2 separate regions of the Homo sapiens genome follow, and region 1 is linked to region 2. Evidence: promoter capture Hi-C in 16 types of primary human blood cells and fetal thymus (Javierre and others, 2016). All regions are on one chromosome and are shown on one strand. The core of a region is centred on a gene start or on the middle of the fragment in contact, and the rest is flanking DNA. Distances in the headings are between cores, read along the strand shown.

Region 1 (4,505 bases), core at 1,026-3,525, 1.4 Mb before region 2:
GAATCTCTATAGAATAATTTTACTTCTGGGGATTAGAGCTATATTATTCTTTAAACAAACAATGAATTTTCATTTCTCTTTATTTCTCCTAATTTGAGAAGTCTGTAGTAGAATATCAAACACACCTACACACAGTAAATCAGTTGCTTGCCAAAAAGATTTATTGAAGAAAAATGAGCAAAGTGAAAACAGACCCATTTAAGTAGTCTGTGCCAGAAAAGAATGAAGATTTATGTCCTTGAATCGCTAACAAGAGTCATAAGAAGAGTGTGATATTCAGTGTTTAAGACCTGGAAAACATGGACAAAAATTCAGAAAACACATTTTAACAGAAAGAAAATTAAATTGATGTATATGTTTACAGAACATTTTTCTGACAAATATGCATATTTGTAAAATATCATTTTGCTTTAGTTTGTATCTAACATGTGCCAAGAACCCTATCATAAATCTTATGTATCTTACATGTGGGTGCTAAACAATTACTGAATTGTCTTAATTCTTATATGAGGATTAAAAATTTTTTAAATAGAAGAGAATCACTGATGAAATACTAATGAAAAAATTGCTTAGAACAAGCATTTTGGGAGAACTTTTTAGGCTATGGTAATGTTTTGGAGAGGTTAATTTGCTTCTCTTCATATCCTTAATTCTCACTTAAGTATAATATTGACTGTTAACTAAATGATATGCATCATTAAATGTTGTAGAAATGAGCCCCTACATTGCTCTGTCTTCATACTCCCTGAAGGCTAGGACGAAAAATTTTACATTAAGTAATTGTTAGAATATTGAAACTTTGTGATACTAGGGGGACCCTTACACTGCGGTTTTTTTTTCTAAGTTTCCGTAAATCTGTTACATGACCTGTAGTCCTAAGCATCTGCATTTATTGAGTCGAATACTTGCCTTAAATGCCCACATTCTTTCATTTCTAAAGGTTTTTGCTTGTTGGAAAAATTTCTTAGATGTTAAGGCTAGCTGGCTAGACTATTGCACAATTCTACATGGTATCCCTTTTGTTGCTTTTAAATCATGAACTCATCGGGTTCTTCTTTCAGTAGTTCAAAGATATCCGTTTCAGTTGTGGAGGTGTCTTCCTTATAGTCTGGGGTATCTAATACAGAGGTAGTTCCAGAAAATGGCTCAGTGATCTTAGGTACAGTCTCTGTATTATCAGTTTCAGACAAATCTTCTTCTGTAGATGATTCTTCCACTAGGTTTGTAGCTATTGATGCAGGGACAACGAAGTCATATCTGGATTCAACAGCAGTAAGCAAAACAGAATGGGTCTCTGCTTCATTTGCAGTATCTCTCTCCATCCAAATACTGGCTCCCTCGGTAGTTTCTTCATCAGTTAGCAGAGTATCTTCCCGTTTATCTTTGTCTTTTTCAGCAGAGGTAGTGAGTTCAAACACAGTGATAAACTTCTCATCAGAGTCAGTTAATGTAGCCACAGCACTGGTGTCATCTTCTAAAACACTTAGGTCAATTTCGGTTATTTTCTCTTCTTCAAGGGCAGTTATGTCTGGAATAGTAGTGAAGCTTTCTTCAGGAGCAGGAGGGATTTCAGCCTCAGGAATAGTGGAATCAGTGACCTGGACAGCCTCATCAGCAGGGACATTGGATTTGATGGAGGAATTATAATTGCTCATATCAGCTTCATCCTTTTTACGTGGAAAGGCAGGAGCGTCAGCAACACCAGCACTGCTGTCCTTTAGTGTGCCAGAGACTTCAGAGGTTATTGAGATCTCTGCATCTCCTGTGTCAATGGTAGCTAAGAGGATATCTTCTTTTGCTATGTCAGTGGAAAAATCTATTAAAGAAACAGTAGTAACTGGTGATGAAATATTCCCAATTTTCACTGGCATGAAATGTTCGGTAATAGAGTCTCTTGTTATGGAGTTTGTAGTGCCAGTCAGAGAGGTAATTTCTTTCTGTAGGTGAGTTGTTGACTTAATAAAGTCGGTCCCCATATCATCTTCTGATTTGAGTTTTTCCTTTTTAGCTGTCAGTTTGTTGTCTGTAGTTGTTGAAAAATCGCTTTCTAGCATATATTCATTTACTGAAGTGACGTGGTCTCCTTCTGAAGTAATAGTTGTTTCTGATTTGGGAATAGCATTGTCAGCCCCAAAGAAAATGGTTGCTGCAGTTGGTGTTTTACTGCTTTCTGTTGGAGGATGAGAATAAATTTTGGGCAAACCATCTTCAGCCATGGGGCGAAGTGGCACTGTGCACTCTCACAGGTCTTGCTTCTGGACTCAGTGGTATCTCTAGGCAGGAGAGCAGTGTTCATCAGAGTGATTAAAGCTTGGGTCATCATGGTGATTGTTGCATCAACTATGGGAGCAATGTCACTGGGTCTCCTTGGAGGTTGTTTCTAGGCTGCGATTGGTTATCTAATTGCAGGAATATTGAATGAAAAGACTATAGAGTCCGCTCTGATTATGAAATCAAATTCACAGCCAAGCATTTCAATTGCAGGGAACTTAAGATTTACCATGTTTCTGTTTATAAGGAAAATGTCTCCTGATATAGAGCTAGGGTTACTTGAAACAGACATAGCAGAGACTGCCAGGCACCTTTTGGGTTTAGAATTAGTAAGGAAAACTTTGGAAGCCACAAGTTTATCAGCATCAGCTTAAAGTCGTCTATCTTCCAAGCAAGTAACAGAGTATTTTTGAGGTGAAGCCATTTTCCCTTAAGATTCATAGTATTAAAAAAAATTGGTATCTAAAAAAATTAATGGTGTTTTTGTCAGTAAGTATAGCTACAGAAGGTAATTAGGTAGCAGGGAATTCAGTTAGTTCCCTTATTCATAACAGGAAGTCCCACTTTTTCAGTAGAGATAATAACTAATAGTTATTGGCCTGTTTGGGTCTTTTTTTTTTTTTTTTCTTTTTTTGTTTTTTGTTTTTTTTTTTTTCATTTATTTTTATTTTATTTTATTTTATTTTTTTTATTATACTCTAAGTTTTAGGGTACATGTGCACATTGTGCAGGTTAGTTACATATGTATACATGTGCCATGCTGGTGCGCTGCACCCACTAATGTGTCATCTAGCATTAGGTATATCTCCCAATACTATCCCTCCCCCCTCCCCCAACCCCACCACAGTCCCCAGAGTGTGATATTCCCCTTCCTGTGTCCATGTGATCTCATTGTTCAATTCCCATCTATGAGTGAGAATATGCGGTGTTTGGTTTTTTGTTCTTGCGATAGTTTACTGAGAATGATGGTTTCCAATTTCATCCATGTCCCTACAAAGGATATGAACTCATCATTTTTTATGGCTGCATAGTATTCCATGGTGTATATGTGCCACATTTTCTTAATCCAGTCTATCATTGTTGGACATTTGGGTTGGTTCCAAGTCTTTGCTATTGTGAATAGTGCCGCAATAAACATACGTGTGCATGTGTCTTTATAGCAGCATGATTTATACTCATTTGGGTATATACCCAGTAATGGGATGGCTGGGTCAAATGGTATTTCTAGTTCTAGATCCCTGAGGAATCGCCACACTGACTTCCACAATGGTTGAACTAGTTTACAGTCCCACCAACAGTGTAAAAGTGTTCCTATTTCTCCACATCCTCTCCAGCACCTGTTGTTTCCTGACTTTTTAATGATTGCCATTCTAACTGGTGTGAGATGATATCTCATAGTGGTTTTGATTTGCATTTCTCTGATGGCCAGTGATGATGAGCATTTCTTCATGTGTTTTTTGGCTGCATAAATGTCTTCTTTTGAGAAGTGTCTGTTCATGTCCTTCGCCCACTTTTTGATGGGGTTGTTTGTTTTTTTCTTGTAAATTTGTTTGAGTTCATTGTAGATTCTGGATATTAGCCCTTTGTCAGATGAGTAGGATGCGAAAATTTTCTCCCATGTTGTAGGTTGCCTGTTCACTCTGATGGTAGTTTCTTTTGCTGTGCAGAAGCTCTTTAGTTTAATTAGATCTCATTTGTCAATTTTGTCTTTTGTTGCCATTGCTTTTGGTGTTTTGGACATGAAGTCCTTGCCCACGCCTATGTCCTGAATGGTAATGCCTAGGTTTTCTTCTAGGGTTTTTATGGTTTTAGGTTTAACGTTTAAATCTTTAATCCATCTTGAATTGATTTTTGTATAAGGTGTAAGGAAGGGATCCAGTTTCAGCTTTCTACATATGGCTAGCCAGTTTTCCCAGCACCATTTATTAAATAGGGAATCCTTTCCCCATTGCTTGTTTTTCTCAGGTTTGTCAAAGATCAGATAGTTGTAGATATGCGGCATTATTTCTGAGGGCTCTGTTGTGTTCCATTGATCTATATCTCTGTTTTGGTACCAGTACCATGCTGTTTTGGTTACTGTAGCCTTGTAGTATAGTTTGAAGTCAGGTAGTGTGATGCCTCCAGCTTTGTTCTTTTGGCTTAGGATTGACTTGGCAATGCGGGCTCTTTTTTGGTTCCATATGAACTTTAAAGTAGTTTTTTCCAATTCTGTGAAGAAAGTCATTGGTAGCTTG
Region 2 (4,344 bases), core at 882-3,381:
CTTCTCATACAAAAGTGCAGAGAAGCCTTTTGAGCTTATATTTGGGAAAAAAGGCAATGGAGAGGACCCTTTAGAATGAACTCCTGAAGTATAATTAGGATTCTAAAAGACAACCTCCAAGGAGAAAAAAAAGAAAAAATGTTCAGAATAAATCAAGGACTATATACCGAAAGGAGATCCAGGACTCAAGAGGACATACCAGTTCCACTGGAGAAGAAGCTCAAAATTGGAGAGGCATTCAGTGGGCCTCTGTTGCTACCTTAGCTTCAAGTTCAGGCAAGTTTTATGGTGTCCTGAGTTTTGTCTGAGGCCCCACATGTTCAAGTGTCAAGTTGTTATTGATGAAAAGAGTCGAACACTTTAAAATATTTAAAGAGGTTTATTCTGAGCCAAATATGAGTCAGTAATGGCCTGTGATTTATCCCTCCAGAGACCCTAAGAACATGTCATCATGGTGCTCAGGCTACACAGTTTTAATGCAATTTAGAGTGACATTAGACATCAATCCATACATGTAGGTTATATATTGACTTGGTCTGGATAGGCAGGACAACTGGGAGTGGGGCTTCCAGGTCATAGGCAAATTCAAGGATTTTCTATTGGCAATTGGTTGAGTTATATTGTTGTCTAAGTTATAGAATTAACAGACAAGAATGTCTGGGTTAAGATAAAGGGCTGTTAATACCAAGGTGTTATCATGCAGATAAAGCTGTCAAGCAACAGGCTTCAGAGAGAATAGATTGTAAATGTTTCTTATCAAAATTAGTGAGTCTGTTCTATTGGTTTTAAAGTCTGCGTTGATGGTAGTGCTAGTGAGTTTTTCCTGAATTCAGAAAGGGGGGAGGGTATAATGAGGCATATCCTATCCCACCACCCCACTTCTCATCATTGCCTCAACTAGTTTTTGAGATTAACTTTGAAATGCTCTTTGCTGAGAGTAAGGGTCCGTTTAGATGGTTGGGGATTCCTAAAATTTTATTTTTTGTTCACATCTACATACAGTTGTTGAAAATTTGAACAGTAACTACAGGAAAAATAACCCAGTTAGATGATATTGATTCTGAAAACTGCTCTAAGTTTTGTGCATAATATTTTACCTAATGTCATTATCAAACTTCTGCTTATTAAGACAGAAACCACAACCATGTCTTTTCTCCTACACATTTTTTCCTATCTCAGATATTATCAGTAAATTCAAATTTTAAATTAATTTCTTGCATTTAACTATTAACAATTTATGTTTCATTCTATTAGGTTGACATGTCTCAGTAACTAATATATAATTTTTATCGTTTTCCCTGTTTTAAACTCTTACCTTTACATACCACTCTGTGTTGAGATGCAAGAGTTTCTTGCTAAAGAAAAGGTTGATCTTGTGACTATCCTTTAAAACTTGAGTAAATAATTATTTGCCTATAAATTATGATTCAAACTCATAATTTTTTATTTAAAATTATGTTCTCCAATTTCAAACTAACTTTCTTCTGTAACGTCCTGCTCTGAACTTTCTCTGTGACCACTACTCACTGGAATGATTTTCAAATATCCTATACTTTTGTATGCTTCTATCGATTGTGAAATGCTTCCTTTGGCAACAGTAAATCCTATCAAAGCTTTCATCTCACCTCCTAAGTCAAATGCCTTATTAAAGCTTTTATTATTTCATATTAAAGCAATTGTGCATTTTCCCCTCTGAAATACTGAACACTTTGTACTTATTATATAAAATTAGTCAAAATAGTTACCCAAACTCTCTAAGTATATTCTCAGTAAACCTTTGTATTGTCCTTGTGAGCAAGGGATGTGAAACATGTGCTGTCCTAAACCATCTGATGCCTTGGACTTAGTGTGGAATGAATGTAAGTGTGATTGTGTGCATGTTTCTGCACATGAATTATTAAATCTAAAGACTTGAAAAATTTTTTTCTTTATCATCAATCCAGGTAATAAAAGTATATTTATGTATTTTATTTCTAAGTTCTAGAGGGTTGGAACAACTTTTCCCTGATACATTGCATTTTTTTGATACCTTCAGTACATGTTAAACTGGCAACCACCAGTGAACTTTACTCTTAAAATATTAATTTTTAACTTCTGTGCTTATATTGTCATTTCAACTCCTTGCTTAGTAACTACAAAACCATTGCAGATCAGTGTGTGAGGGAACTGCCATCATGAGGTCTGACAAGTCAGCTTTGGTATTTCTGCTCCTGCAGCTCTTCTGTGTTGGCTGTGGATTCTGTGGGAAAGTCCTGGTGTGGCCCTGTGACATGAGCCATTGGCTTAATGTCAAGGTCATTCTAGAAGAGCTCATAGTGAGAGGCCATGAGGTAACAGTATTGACTCACTCAAAGCCTTCGTTAATTGACTACAGGAAGCCTTCTGCATTGAAATTTGAGGTGGTCCATATGCCACAGGACAGAACAGAAGAAAATGAAATATTTGTTGACCTAGCTCTGAATGTCTTGCCAGGCTTATCAACCTGGCAATCAGTTATAAAATTAAATGATTTTTTTGTTGAAATAAGAGGAACTTTAAAAATGATGTGTGAGAGCTTTATCTACAATCAGACGCTTATGAAGAAGCTACAGGAAACCAACTACGATGTAATGCTTATAGACCCTGTGATTCCCTGTGGAGACCTGATGGCTGAGTTGCTTGCAGTCCCTTTTGTGCTCACACTTAGAATTTCTGTAGGAGGCAATATGGAGCGAAGCTGTGGGAAACTTCCAGCTCCACTTTCCTATGTACCTGTGCCTATGACAGGACTAACAGACAGAATGACCTTTCTGGAAAGAGTAAAAAATTCAATGCTTTCAGTTTTGTTCCACTTCTGGATTCAGGATTACGACTATCATTTTTGGGAAGAGTTTTATAGTAAGGCATTAGGTAAGACACTTTTGTTTTATTTTTAATTTAGTTATCAAAAGAAATATTTTTAAAAATTGTCATACATTGTCTATGACATATATATGCAGGTCAATGAGTTTTTTTAGAAAATGTTGTAGCTGTTTTTCATAAAGAAAGTGTATTTGTTCTAAGCGTAAGATAACCTACTTTCTTAATACCAGTAATATACTTAAAAATGATCATCAATAACTAAGAGATTATATTTTGTATTTCCTCCAAATAGCGCAAATCAACATCACATATTTTTGAGAATCACTGATTGTTAGTCTGAATTTTATAGAATTTCTATTGAAATAAAATGCTAATCATTATTTTCTCTCTCATCATGTATTTAAGAAAATCTTCAGAAGGTCTTCTTTGAATTAATTTTTCAAGAGTCATTAAATTGAACATTTTCTAGAATTCTTTAATTTCTTAGGTGATTACTTCACAAAAACTTGAAAAAATATTATAAAAAGTTAAAAGACTTACGGTCTTGTGGGGCATAAGATAGTAGAATTTTTACTTTACTGATATACACCTACTTGACTTATTTTTATTTCCTTGCTTTACTGATAAAAAGTTGTTTTGCTTTGCAATTTTCATATAGTTGTGATCAGAGCTGGTCAATGCAAGACATGTTTTTATCCAAATATGTTTGAGAATTATGTAGAAACATGAAAAAAGGTACAATTATATTCGACACTAAAATATTGTTTAATGTATTCCAACGAATTCTTATGCATAGACTGTTTCACAGAACTAATATTCAGAGGATCCCAGTTCAAATGTCCTTAGCCTTAGACATGATTTGAATTTACATGTATTGATTTGCTTTAAATAATTTTCCATTCAGTAAGCTGTGCCTAGCTGCAGATAGCCTACCAGGCTTTATGGATCTAGGTAAACAATACAAATCTCTTGGCCTCAAGTCTACATTCAGATATTAATTTAAAGGGGTACAGCTATATAGAGGTCACTGGCAAATTTTGGTAAAATAGGATTATAGTAAAAGCCCCCTGACAAGATTGAAATTTAAAATAAAACAAAAGTGTTATCAAAGGGGTGAAAGAGCATTTTCCAATAAACAAAAGTGGGTTCTGGCCATGCATTCAGAAATTCCCCAACAATTCTTTAAAAATCATGGAGCAGCTTGATATATAAGAAATTCATTTAATAACTATATTTATTATGTAGCTCCAACTTACTAAATTATTGATTATTATATATTTTATAGAATTATCTATTGTGAGTCTAAATCAAGAGTATATATTCAAACAACTATAGGAAAAGGGATATCAGTCAATTTCAATTCAAGGATTTATTTCCATAAGTGCTTACGCACAGGTGTATTTCATTTTATTATACATTGCTTTATTGTCCTTCACAAAAATTGCAATTTACAAATTAAAGGTTTTTGAAAACCTTGAGTCAAGCTAATCAATTTGGCGTAAT

The links. Contacts are between HindIII fragments. The CHiCAGO score rates a contact against its expected background, and 5 or more counts as called.
Region 1: the fragment with the promoter of CABS1 here is called in contact with the fragment with the promoter of UGT2A3 in region 2 in 5 of 17 cell types (neutrophils, monocytes, non-activated CD4 T cells and 2 more); the score reaches 10.3 in neutrophils.

Annotation. Positions count from the first base shown.
Region 1 is chr4:70,332,751-70,337,255 of GRCh38, reverse strand. It overlaps CABS1 (calcium binding protein, spermatid associated 1), which reads right to left and starts at 2,275. Exons shown (of 2, transcript NM_033122.4): 1 at 910-2,275; 2 at 140-290. The coding sequence starts at 2,216. The coding sequence ends at 1,029. The HindIII fragment of the contact is 765 bases long and covers 1,548-2,312 here.
Region 2 is chr4:68,949,591-68,953,934 of GRCh38, reverse strand. UGT2A3 (UDP glucuronosyltransferase family 2 member A3) reads left to right here and starts at 2,131. Exons shown (of 6, transcript NM_024743.4): 1 at 2,131-2,889. The coding sequence starts at 2,175. The HindIII fragment of the contact is 6,967 bases long and covers 1,654-4,344 here.